2 separate regions of the Homo sapiens genome follow, and region 2 is linked to region 1. The links are contacts of gene promoters, found by promoter capture Hi-C in blood cells and fetal thymus (Javierre and others, 2016). All regions are on one chromosome and are shown on one strand. The core of a region is centred on a gene start or on the middle of the fragment in contact, and the rest is flanking DNA. Distances in the headings are between cores, read along the strand shown. Region 1 holds the start of SETD5 (SET domain containing 5). Region 2 holds the start of TMEM43 (transmembrane protein 43).

Region 1 (5,598 bases), core at 2,819-5,318:
GTCATTGACTGCTGTTAACTATGGCCTAATTTTTCATAAGTTATTTCAACATGGAGAGGATAAAGCAAAAGTAATTATCTGCAAATCTGTACTTTGCACTTTATTATTTCCCCATTCAAAGGTAAAAATGAAATAGTCATTCTCCCCAGAAAAGCCAGAATAATTTCAGAAAGTCAGTTCCTGGACACAAAACAGTATCAAAAGATATAAAAAAGTTTTCAAGGGTATAACTTAAGTAAATCCTTCTATGAAAAGGGCCTGTATGATCCTCTAAAAAATGATAATATCAAGAGCACAAAAGGTTCCAAACAACAGGAAATTCGAGTGTAAAAGCAATTATTTTATATAGCAACTTAAGCCACAGAGTAAAAAACTACAAACATTTTTATCTTAAACCCTAAGTATGTCAAACAGCCAGTATACATGAAATCATATTTATCTGCTATTGCATCTTATCTATGTGATAGTAATAAGAATTGGAACCTCCTAAAATAGTATCCATTAAAGGTTCTGTTTCATTGGTCTGCTTTTATTACTGGGAAAACAATGTGAGCCACATTTGTGAATGACAAAACTCATTTCCATTCTTTTTGGTTCTCTGCCACAAATGCCAGAGTGATACTACAAATTATAGATGTTTGTGAGATTTAAGTACATTTACACGAAAATGAACAAATCAAAATTCTGAGAGAAAAAAGTATAGGATACACGAGTCTTGGGGAAGAAAAACAGCACACAGGAATATGTCCAGTATTGCATATAATTGGTGGTGGTGGTTCTCCTTCAAGTTTTTCCACGCTCAGACTGTTTTGCTTAATCAGAGATCATCCTAATGTTCAGGAGTTGTGGGGGAGGGGAGATCACCTAAGGGGCTCAGAGGCCATCTTCTCAGTATCCTGAACTAGACTTATTCGATTTCTGCATATTTCTTCTGGTCTGTCCTACATTTCAGATGGATTATGGCCAAAGACATATATTTGTGATGTCAGAAGGCTATATCCAACATGTATATAATGAATCAATCTTATAAGTCAAACTCCAAAGAAAATATCTAATCTGGAGAAGTTTATTACTAATATACAAATTAAAAATATTTATTTAGAAACCACTCCAAAATGGCACCTTTTTAGAGTTTAAGAGTTCAAGCTTAGTAAAATGTTTAGCAAATCGTCTATAAGGTAAATGTGGTCTAATCGAAAGGATGGAGACACATAACAAAATAATAAGAATTGATTCTATGATTAAAGAGATGGAGGAAGGCATGATATGTGAGCTGCAGGAAAAAATTCCTGTTATTTTCTTCCTATTGTGGTTATCAGAAAGATTCTTAAAATTATTACTTGGGTTTTTAAACTGATTGAAAAATTAAAACTCTAATGGAACTTTTAGTCCTATCCAAGCACAAATGTCTAGATAAAAAACAAAAATCTGCCAAAAAACAAAAATCAAATCAAACAAACAAAAAAAGAAAGGCTTTAACCATGATCCAGTTTCCAGATGCCAATATCCATAAATGGGTAGGAGATTATGAATTACTAATTCCCATCTCCCCACCAATAAAAAGCAAACCAGCTCAGCAGTGAAAATTCCCAGAAAAGCAAGGTTTCTTCTTAGTCCTGAAGCAGCCATCGCCTAAGTGCTGCTCCCTGCAGCCAGCAGCATTAATGGACGCTGCACTGCTGTCCTTCCCTGGAGACAGCAGCCAGCACTACTCAAGCTTCTCACGTAGCAACCAGAGCTCCAGAGCCAGCAGCTGCTGCTGCCTTGTATACTCACCCCTGTGATCCAACCCAAAGGAACAACCTTCTCTTTACCCCACCCCCACTCCTTACACACACTTTTTTTTTTTTTTTTTGGACCAGTGCTCCATGCCAGAAGGGCTGGAATTATGCTTTTAAGAAAGAAACAATCCTAAGGTCACCCTTTTAAACCAAGGCCTTTTATTAGAAAAATCAACATTTACCAAATTCTAAATATCCATTTTAATTAAGCCAGCAGTTTAGGAGTGAAGATTAAGCTTTGGTCTTTTGAAAGCCAATTTCCCAAGCACTCTACAATCTAATTTAAATTTGCAGCTAGAAACAGAGCCTTGTGTCATGTCCTACCAAAGGGCATAATTCATTTTTCTACACATAATGACAGTCTGAGTAAACCTTAAAGACTCTAATCCCATAACAGGCCAGAATTTTTGGCTACAGAAGAGAACTAATGATCCTGAGAAAACTGGAAGAAATCCAATAGAAAAAAAAAAGCCCTACGTCCTCTATGGAGCCCAGAAACCTCTGATTACGTGGGTATTCTCTGCTTTAGTCCTAGCTCAGATCCCACACATCTAAAATTACCACTTAGAACTTTCTGTGACCTAAAAACATTAATAATATAAAATTAACAACCAAAAAATAATTTCAAATAGGGAGTACACACTCTCCTAAAAAGCTCAGCACACTCCACTCAGCTGGATCCTCCCCAATCACAAGTATAGCTATGTAACATCTGTCCAACAAAGAAATGTAAATATGACCTTGGTCACAAATATGTCATCTAAAAACTTGTTTAGTCAACTGATGAAGGTAATTAGCACAGAACTTGGGGATTCGTTCAGTACCTATGTGCAGGAAGGAAACTGGAGAAATGAACTTAAATATAGACAAAGCCCAGTGGAACCCAGAGGTCTGGGAAAGAAATGAGTTACCGGTGAATACATTGCACAAGTAACATGAGAAAGCAGAAAATGCAGGTCATACACGCACCCCTGACCCAGACCAGCAGAGCTGACTGCAGCATCCATATCCAAGAGAAAGACCACTGACGCCCAAGAAGTGAGACAAGCAAGGACTCTATAGAATCAATTAGCATAGAAGGGGCTTTCCCAACAGTTTAACTTTCCCTCTCATGCGATTTACCTACTTGAACCAGGGCTCTTTCCTACACTCCTCTTCACATTCCCGACTTACACGCAGAGGGAAAGAGAATTCATAAAGGGAATATTTTTCTGCCTTTGAAGATATTCTCACAAGATCGTTCTCCACGCCCAAGGCAAGTAAAACGACACAATCTGGCTCAACTCCAGGCTCGAACCCTACACATTCAACGAGGCTATCTCAGACACGCTGTGGCACACGCCACGGGGAGCCAGAGAACGTGTGGTGGGGGTGGCGAAGGTAATGCCTTTGGGAAGCAGCCATCTGAGGTGGGAAGCCAGAAAACGAGAGGGAAGGCGTCCAGGAAGATTACGGAGGGGAGATCGCGGCCCCCAGAGCGATCAGAGTTGTCTGTCACAAGGCCGCGAGAACGGGGGTAGGGAGTGGGGGATCGGGGAGAGAAAAAAAGTATGCCTGTGTATTTCGAGCGGAGGGCAGCAAGAGGCCTCTCCTCAAGGGAAAGGTAAACGTGGAGTAGGCAGTTCCCAGGAAAGGGGGTGAAGAGGCGTTGGGGGAGGGGAAGCGTCCTGACCCAGGAAAAACATGAAAGGGGGAGTTGGGTCGCCTAGATTAGAGGGGGATCTCTCTCCCTGGGAAAATGGGGTGTTGCAACGGTGTGTGCAAGGCGGCGAGGGGGGTGAGAAGTGGCAGCATCCTCCTAAGAGCTTGGGGAGGGCCAGGCCCACGACCCAAGGAGAGCGAGCGCGGGGAGACGGAGGAGGTGACCCTTCCCTCCCCTGGGGCCCGATCGTGAGGTTCGGTCTCTTTTCTGTCGGACCCTTACCTTGTCCCAGGCGCTGCCGGGGCCTGGGCCCGGGCTGCGGCGCACGGCACTCCCGGGAGGCGGCAGGACTCGAGTTAGGCCCAACGCGGCGCCACGGCGTTTCCTGGCCGGGAATGGCCCGTACCCGTGAGGTGGGGGTGGGGGGCAGAAAGGCGGAGCGAGCCAAAGGCGGGGAGGGGGGGCAGGGCCAGGGAAAGAGGGGGGCCGGCACTACTGTGTTGGCGGACTGGCGGGACTGGGGCTGCGTGAGTCTCTGAGCGCAGGCGGGCGGCGGCCGCCCCTCCCCCGGCAGCGGCGGCGGCGGCGGCGGCGGCGGCGGCGGCGGCAGCTCACTCAGCCCGCTGCCCGAGCGGAAACGCCACTGACCGCACGGGGATTCCCAGCGCCGGCGCCAGGGGCACCCGGGACACGCCCCCTCCCGCCGCGCCATTGGCCTCTCCGCCCACCGCCCCGCACCCATTGGCCCACTCGCCGCCAATCAGCGGAAGCCGCCGGGGCCGCCTAGAGAAGAGGCTGTGCTTCGGCGCTCCGGCTCCTCAGAGAGCCTCGGCTAGGTAGGGGAGCGGAACTCTGGTGGGAGGGGAGGTGCGGTACACTGGGGGGATGGGTGGCTAGGGGGGCCGTCTGGTGGCTTGCGGGGGTTGCCTTTCCCGTGGGAAGTCGGGAACATAATGTTTGTTACGTTGGGAGGGAAAGGGGTGGCTGGATGCAGGCGGGAGGGAGGCCCGCCCTGCGGCAACCGGAGGGGGAGGGAGAAGGGAGCGGAAAATGCTCGAAACCGGACGGAGCCATTGCTCTCGCAGAGGGAGGAGCGCTTCCGGCTAGCCTCTTGTCGCCGATTGGCCGTTTCTCCTCCCGCCGTGTGTGAAAACACAAATGGCGTATTCTGGTTGGAGTAAAGCTCCTGTCAGTTACGCCGTCGGGAGTACGCAGCCGCTTAGCGACTCTCGCGTTGCCCCCTGGGTGGGGCGGGTAGGTAGGTGGGGTGTAGAGATGCTGGGTGTGCGGGCGCGGCCGGCCTCCTGCGGCGGGAGGGGAGGGTCAGTGAAATCGGCTCTGGCGCGGGCGTCCTCCCACCCTCCCCTTCCTTCGGGGGAGTCGGTTTACCCGCCGCCTGCTTGTCTTCGACACCTGATTGGCTGTCGAAGCTGTGGGACCGGGCCCTTGCTACTGGCTCGAGTCTCACATGAGCGAAACCACTGCGCGGGGCGCGGGGGTGGCGGGGAGGCGGGCGTTGGTACGGTCCTCCCCGAGGCCGAGCGCCGCAGTGTCTGGCCCCGCGCCCCTGCGCAACGTGGCAGGAAGCGCGCGCTGGAGGCGGGGGCGGGCTGCCGGCCGAGACTTCTGGATGGCGGCGGCCGCGGCTCCGCCCCGGGTTCCCACCGCCTGAAGGGCGAGACAAGCCCGACCTGCTACAGGCACTCGTGGGGGTGGGGGAGGAGCGGGGGTCGGTCCGGCTGGTTTGTGGGTGGGAGGCGCTTGTTCTCCAAAAACCGGCGCGAGCTGCAATCCTGAGGGAGCTGCGGTGGAGGAGGTGGAGAGAAGGCCGCACCCTTCTGGGCAGGGGGAGGGGAGTGCCGCAATACCTTTATGGGAGTTCTCTGCTGCCTCCCGTCTTGTAAGGACCGCCCTGGGCCTGGAAGAAGCCCTCCCTCCTTTCCTCCTCGCGTGATCTCGTCATCGCCTCCATGTCGAGTCGCTTCTCGATTATGGGCGGGATTCTTTTGCCTAGGCTTAAGGGGCTAACTTGGTCCCTGGGCGTTGCCCTGCAGGGGAGTGAGCAGCTGTAAGATTTGAGGGGCGACTCCGATTAGTTTATCTTCCCACGGACTAGAGTTGGTGTCGAGGTTATTGTAATAAGGGTGGGGTAGGGAAATGGAGCTTAGTCATTCA
Region 2 (4,182 bases), core at 1-2,500, 4.7 Mb before region 1:
CGCCTGGCCGAGCCTGAGTCTCTCCGAATACCTCTGAGGCTTTTCTAGGTACAACATTCAAGGCTTCTAACCCTCCTGTGGGCCCGAAATGTCCTGGGAGTGTGGATGATACTAACCCGAGACAAAGTGTACTAGGGCTGTGGGTGATGCACACCCTGGCCTCTCAAGGGGTGTGGGAGGCAGAGAGGACGCTTGGGGACAGAGGCGGTGTCTGGAAATAGGGTGTGACAGGCAAGGGGAGAGCTGCTAGGACACTCTACCAAAGCAGGAGGGAGGGTGTGTCTGGGGCTGGCTGGGCTCCTAAGCGGGCCCTAGAAGCACTTTCACAGAGGAGGGGAGAGGTGAGTCACCAGCTTCTCCCACACCCAGCGCCCTGGTAGGAGGCGCTGCTTGTTGAATGAATGTTGGGCTTAAATAGTTTCCCGAGAAAGGCTAGTTGCAGGGAGAAGAGGCCTTGAGGGAACAGCCCTCAGCCAGGCCTCCTCCAACCAAATCCTTGCTAGGGGGAGGAGGGGCCCCGACAGTAGAGAAATGCTCCCTCTCCCCCAACTCCTTCGCTCCCAGCCCAGCCTAAGCTTTTTGGAGCATCACAGACTCGGTTTACAGAGACTCCCTAGGGCGGAGAGCTCTCTGCCCGCCTGGACAGCCCTGTCTGTCCATTGCTGGACAGCTCCACTTGGGCTGGATCGCCTTCCTCCCTCCCAAGGGACTGGCGCCCTCTCTGAGGTCGCGTCCAGCTCTCATAATGCGCAAGTTTCAGGGCCCCAAGGTACAGGAGGGAACTGGGAATGCAAGGAGGGGCCGCGGAGAGGCGTACAAGCAGATCCCAGTACGGGAGCAACACCTCCGAGTCCGCCTCCGCACGAACGCCGAGGACGAGGCGAGCCAAGGAACACGGACAAAAGAAGCCTGGACAGGCCGCGAGATGAGCAGAGGGATGAGCTGGCGAAGGCACAGACACGGCGAGCAGAGGGAGATGCGGGCCTAGCCGCACGGAGGAGCTCCAGGCGGCGAAATGGACCTAGAGGACCCCGGGGAAAAGCCCCAGGGCGACGGGGAAGCCTGGGTGTGGCCCGGCTGGCCCGGGGATACTCACATTCGCGGCCATGGTGGGACCCGGCTCGCTGCCGCCGCCTCGCGCTGTTCAGCTAGGAAGTGGGCTGACGACTGGAGCGTGGTGTCCAGCGGCCTCTTGCCAGCCCCAGCTTCGAAAATCCGCGTGGACTCCAGGGCCAAGCGGGACTTACTGCAGTTACCTCCCCCTGTGCCCAGTGTTTCTGCGCATGCGCGCGGCGAGACGTCCTGGAAACTATACGGTCCGGGACATTGCAGTACCTCATTGATGCGCCTGCGCACTGCAAAGCTTTCGGGGAAATGTAGTTTCTACTGCCTGGAGAGCTGTCGAGGAGCGCGCGACCTGCTGGGAAATGTAGTTTCCGGCTGAGGTTGGCCTGGCCGCGGTTGCGAGGGCGCCGAGGCAGGCGCGCGGCGGGCAGGCCTGGGAGGGGGCGGGTCCGCGCGGGCTTCGGAGGAGCCCGCCCTGCCAGAGGAGAGGGAGGTCACGGCGTAAAGGTGCAGCTGCCGCCACCGCCGCTTCTGCAAGGTCTCAGGGACGGGCTGCAGCCATGTCCTATTGCCGGCAGGAAGGTAGGGAGGGCGGGCTGCCACGGAGACCGGCCTACGAGGGCCTGCGGGAGACACGCGGGCCCCGGCGCCCCGCGACCACGCCGGGCGCGGGCCACCTGAGGCGCGGCCCAGGTGCCCACCCTGGGACACTCGGAGGCGGGCCGGCTGGGGGGTCGCTACTCCTGTTTTGCGGATGAGAAAACCGAAGCTCTGGGGGGAACGGGGCTGGTCCAAGGTCACAGTGAAGCCCGAACCCTGACCTCAGAGGGGCCTGTGCGTAGGAAGTCGTAAACTAGGTCCGGTTGGGGCACGGGAAGTGCCGAGCACGTTGCGTGTGGCTCGAAACTGGGAATGTATGGTGGTTAATTATCACTACCGCTCCTGCCATACCCCACGTGTTTACATTTTGCACGCGCCTTTAAAAGGCGCGTCCCGAAAAGTTGCCACTCGGGGTAGCGTGTGCTGTGCTGGAGTGCTAGGAGTTCCACTAACGGGAATGTTTTTGAGCCCCCTGCTACCTGTCAGGCACTGTTCAAGGAAACTTGCCTGGCTTGTCTCACAGATCTCGCTGCGACCTTTGTAAGTCAGGCTCTGTTGTTGGTCACATTTTACTGAAGAGTAAAGTTAGACACAGGAGACATGGCTAAAGCCACTCAGCCAGCAAATCGTGGAGCTGGGGTTTGAGCCTGGGCATTGTGACCCCAGAAGAGCCTTATCCAATCTAGTGCCCAGTGGATTGCAGGGAGAACCCTGCCTACCTCCCACCCCAAAGTTGAGCTCCGACCACCTACTGCTTCCTTGATGTTACTCTACCCAAGAGCTCAGAAGTACCCGAGCCACAGGTCGGAGGGCCTCCCCACACACTGCCACAAACTGGCTCCTTGGCCCTGAGCTCCCACCTAACCCCTCCAGGCCCTGGTATCCAGTGTTGTAAAATGAGATGTTGGGCTTCATTGATACGGCAAATACTCATGAAGCACCTTCTCTGCGCCAGAGAAGGGGGATGGATGGTTATAAAACTACAGAGAGAGTTGGAAGTCCCCCAGAAATTCTTTGGTGAATACTCCAGCTCCGTCAGTTAATTCAAGCAATCTGAAGCCCAGAGAAGGAGGTGGCCTACCTGTAGTTACACATCCAGTTAGGAGACTAGCTCAGCCTAAAATTCTGAGCCTTTTCCCTGGTGGCGCTGTCTGCTTCTAGAACCTCTCCTCCTCTGGGTCGTAAAGCCATAAGACTCACTCTTTAATGAGTACTATTATATTTCCGCTGATTACTACTTAATGTGTGCCATAAGCAAAAGTCCTCTGCCCTCACCACTCTTGTTTTTAATTTCGAGTCTTTCTCTAATTTACTTCATTTAGCAAATAATTTTTGAGCCTTTGGGTATAATGAGGCTGTGCTGATAAACAAGACCCTCCTCTTTGAGGATTTACAGGAGGCAGTTTTCTCTGGAAAGGGGAGGCTAGGTCCATCTGCCTCCAAAACATGGAGCCCTATCTTTTCCTGCTTCAAAGATCTCTCTTAGTTCGGAGAGGAGTGAGAATTGAAAGCACTCACTTATAGGCCTTCCTTAGTATTTATCTTGTGCATACCACTGTCCCCGTAAGAAGTCCCTAACTTCCCCCCCTCCGCCCCCCACTGATCCTTTATGCTTCCCATAGGATTTTTAAAAAATGATCCCAAACTGCTTACTGTATCAGAGCTTATGTGATCTGGCCCTGTCTGCCTTTCCAGCCTGGTCTCTTCCCACCCTTTTGCTGCCCAGCCTCTAGCCTCTTGGCTATTCCCTTGGTTTGGTATATCCTGCCTTCAGCTCTTCCGTGGCTGACTCCTCATCCTTTAACATTTAGCTCCAATATCACCTCCTGACCCTTTGTGTCTTTCACATCCTGAACTGTCTGAAATGACCTTTTTTATTTTTTGCCATCTTACTTCCTGCCTGTCTTCTCGCACTAAGCTGAGAGCATCAGATGGGCTGTGGAATCCCCAGCATCTAGCACAGGGCTTGGTGTACAATGGGTGCCCACATCTTTATTGAATCATGCATTTACCTGCCCTCTGTTCTGAGTGAATCACTTGCCTGTACAAGTTTATTTCAGGGGTCCACCTGCTACCCAGCCTTCAGGTTAAACTCGTTGGTTTGGCATTCAAGGGCTCTCAGCCTCGCACCTGGGCCTTGGGCTAGCCACACTTCTCCTGTGTCAGCACCATAGTGTTTCTTTCTTAGTTTCCTCTTTCTAATGCAGAGCCTGCCAACTCCTGTTCAGTCAACAATTATAGAGCACACGTGATGTGCCAGCCATTGGGCATATAGTGGTGAGCAAGGTGACACATTCTCTGCCCTCCTGGCATGGTGGAACAGATTGCCATTAAAACATCACCAGACAAATGCATGATTACAGACTGTCATAGGTGACATGAAGGAAAAGCCCAGCATGCTATGATCGTTTAGTGAAAGGCTCTATGGGGTCTGAGAAGGCTTCCTGAGGCTTCAGACATCCTTTTAAATGCCACTTTCTTAAGAAAACCTTTTGCAATCCTAAACACGTGTGAGCG

What was found. Contacts are between HindIII fragments. The CHiCAGO score rates a contact against its expected background, and 5 or more counts as called.
Region 2: a contact is called between the fragment with the promoter of TMEM43 here and the fragment with the promoter of SETD5 in region 1, in 1 of 17 cell types (monocytes). The highest score is 5.8, in monocytes.

What each region holds. Positions count from the first base shown.
Region 1 is chr3:9,396,085-9,401,682 of GRCh38, reverse strand. It overlaps SETD5 (SET domain containing 5), which reads right to left and starts at 4,068. Exons shown (of 23, transcript NM_001080517.3): 1 at 3,706-4,068. THUMPD3-AS1 (THUMPD3 antisense RNA 1) reads left to right here and starts at 5,060. Exons shown (of 4, transcript NR_132781.1): 1 at 5,060-5,123. RefSeq lists an enhancer at 3,201-3,250 and a silencer at 3,861-5,170. The HindIII fragment of the contact is 6,018 bases long and covers 2,020-5,598 here.
Region 2 is chr3:14,122,120-14,126,301 of GRCh38, reverse strand. TMEM43 (transmembrane protein 43) reads right to left here and starts at 1,250. Exons shown (of 12, transcript NM_024334.3): 1 at 1,097-1,250. The coding sequence starts at 1,108. CHCHD4 (coiled-coil-helix-coiled-coil-helix domain containing 4) reads left to right here and starts at 1,432. Exons shown (of 3, transcript NM_001098502.2): 1 at 1,432-1,647. The coding sequence starts at 1,626. RefSeq lists enhancers at 616-905, 338-1,072, 1,006-1,205, 1,073-1,807, 2,576-2,675 and 2 more and silencers at 1,396-1,955, 1,966-2,015. The HindIII fragment of the contact is 788 bases long and covers 578-1,365 here.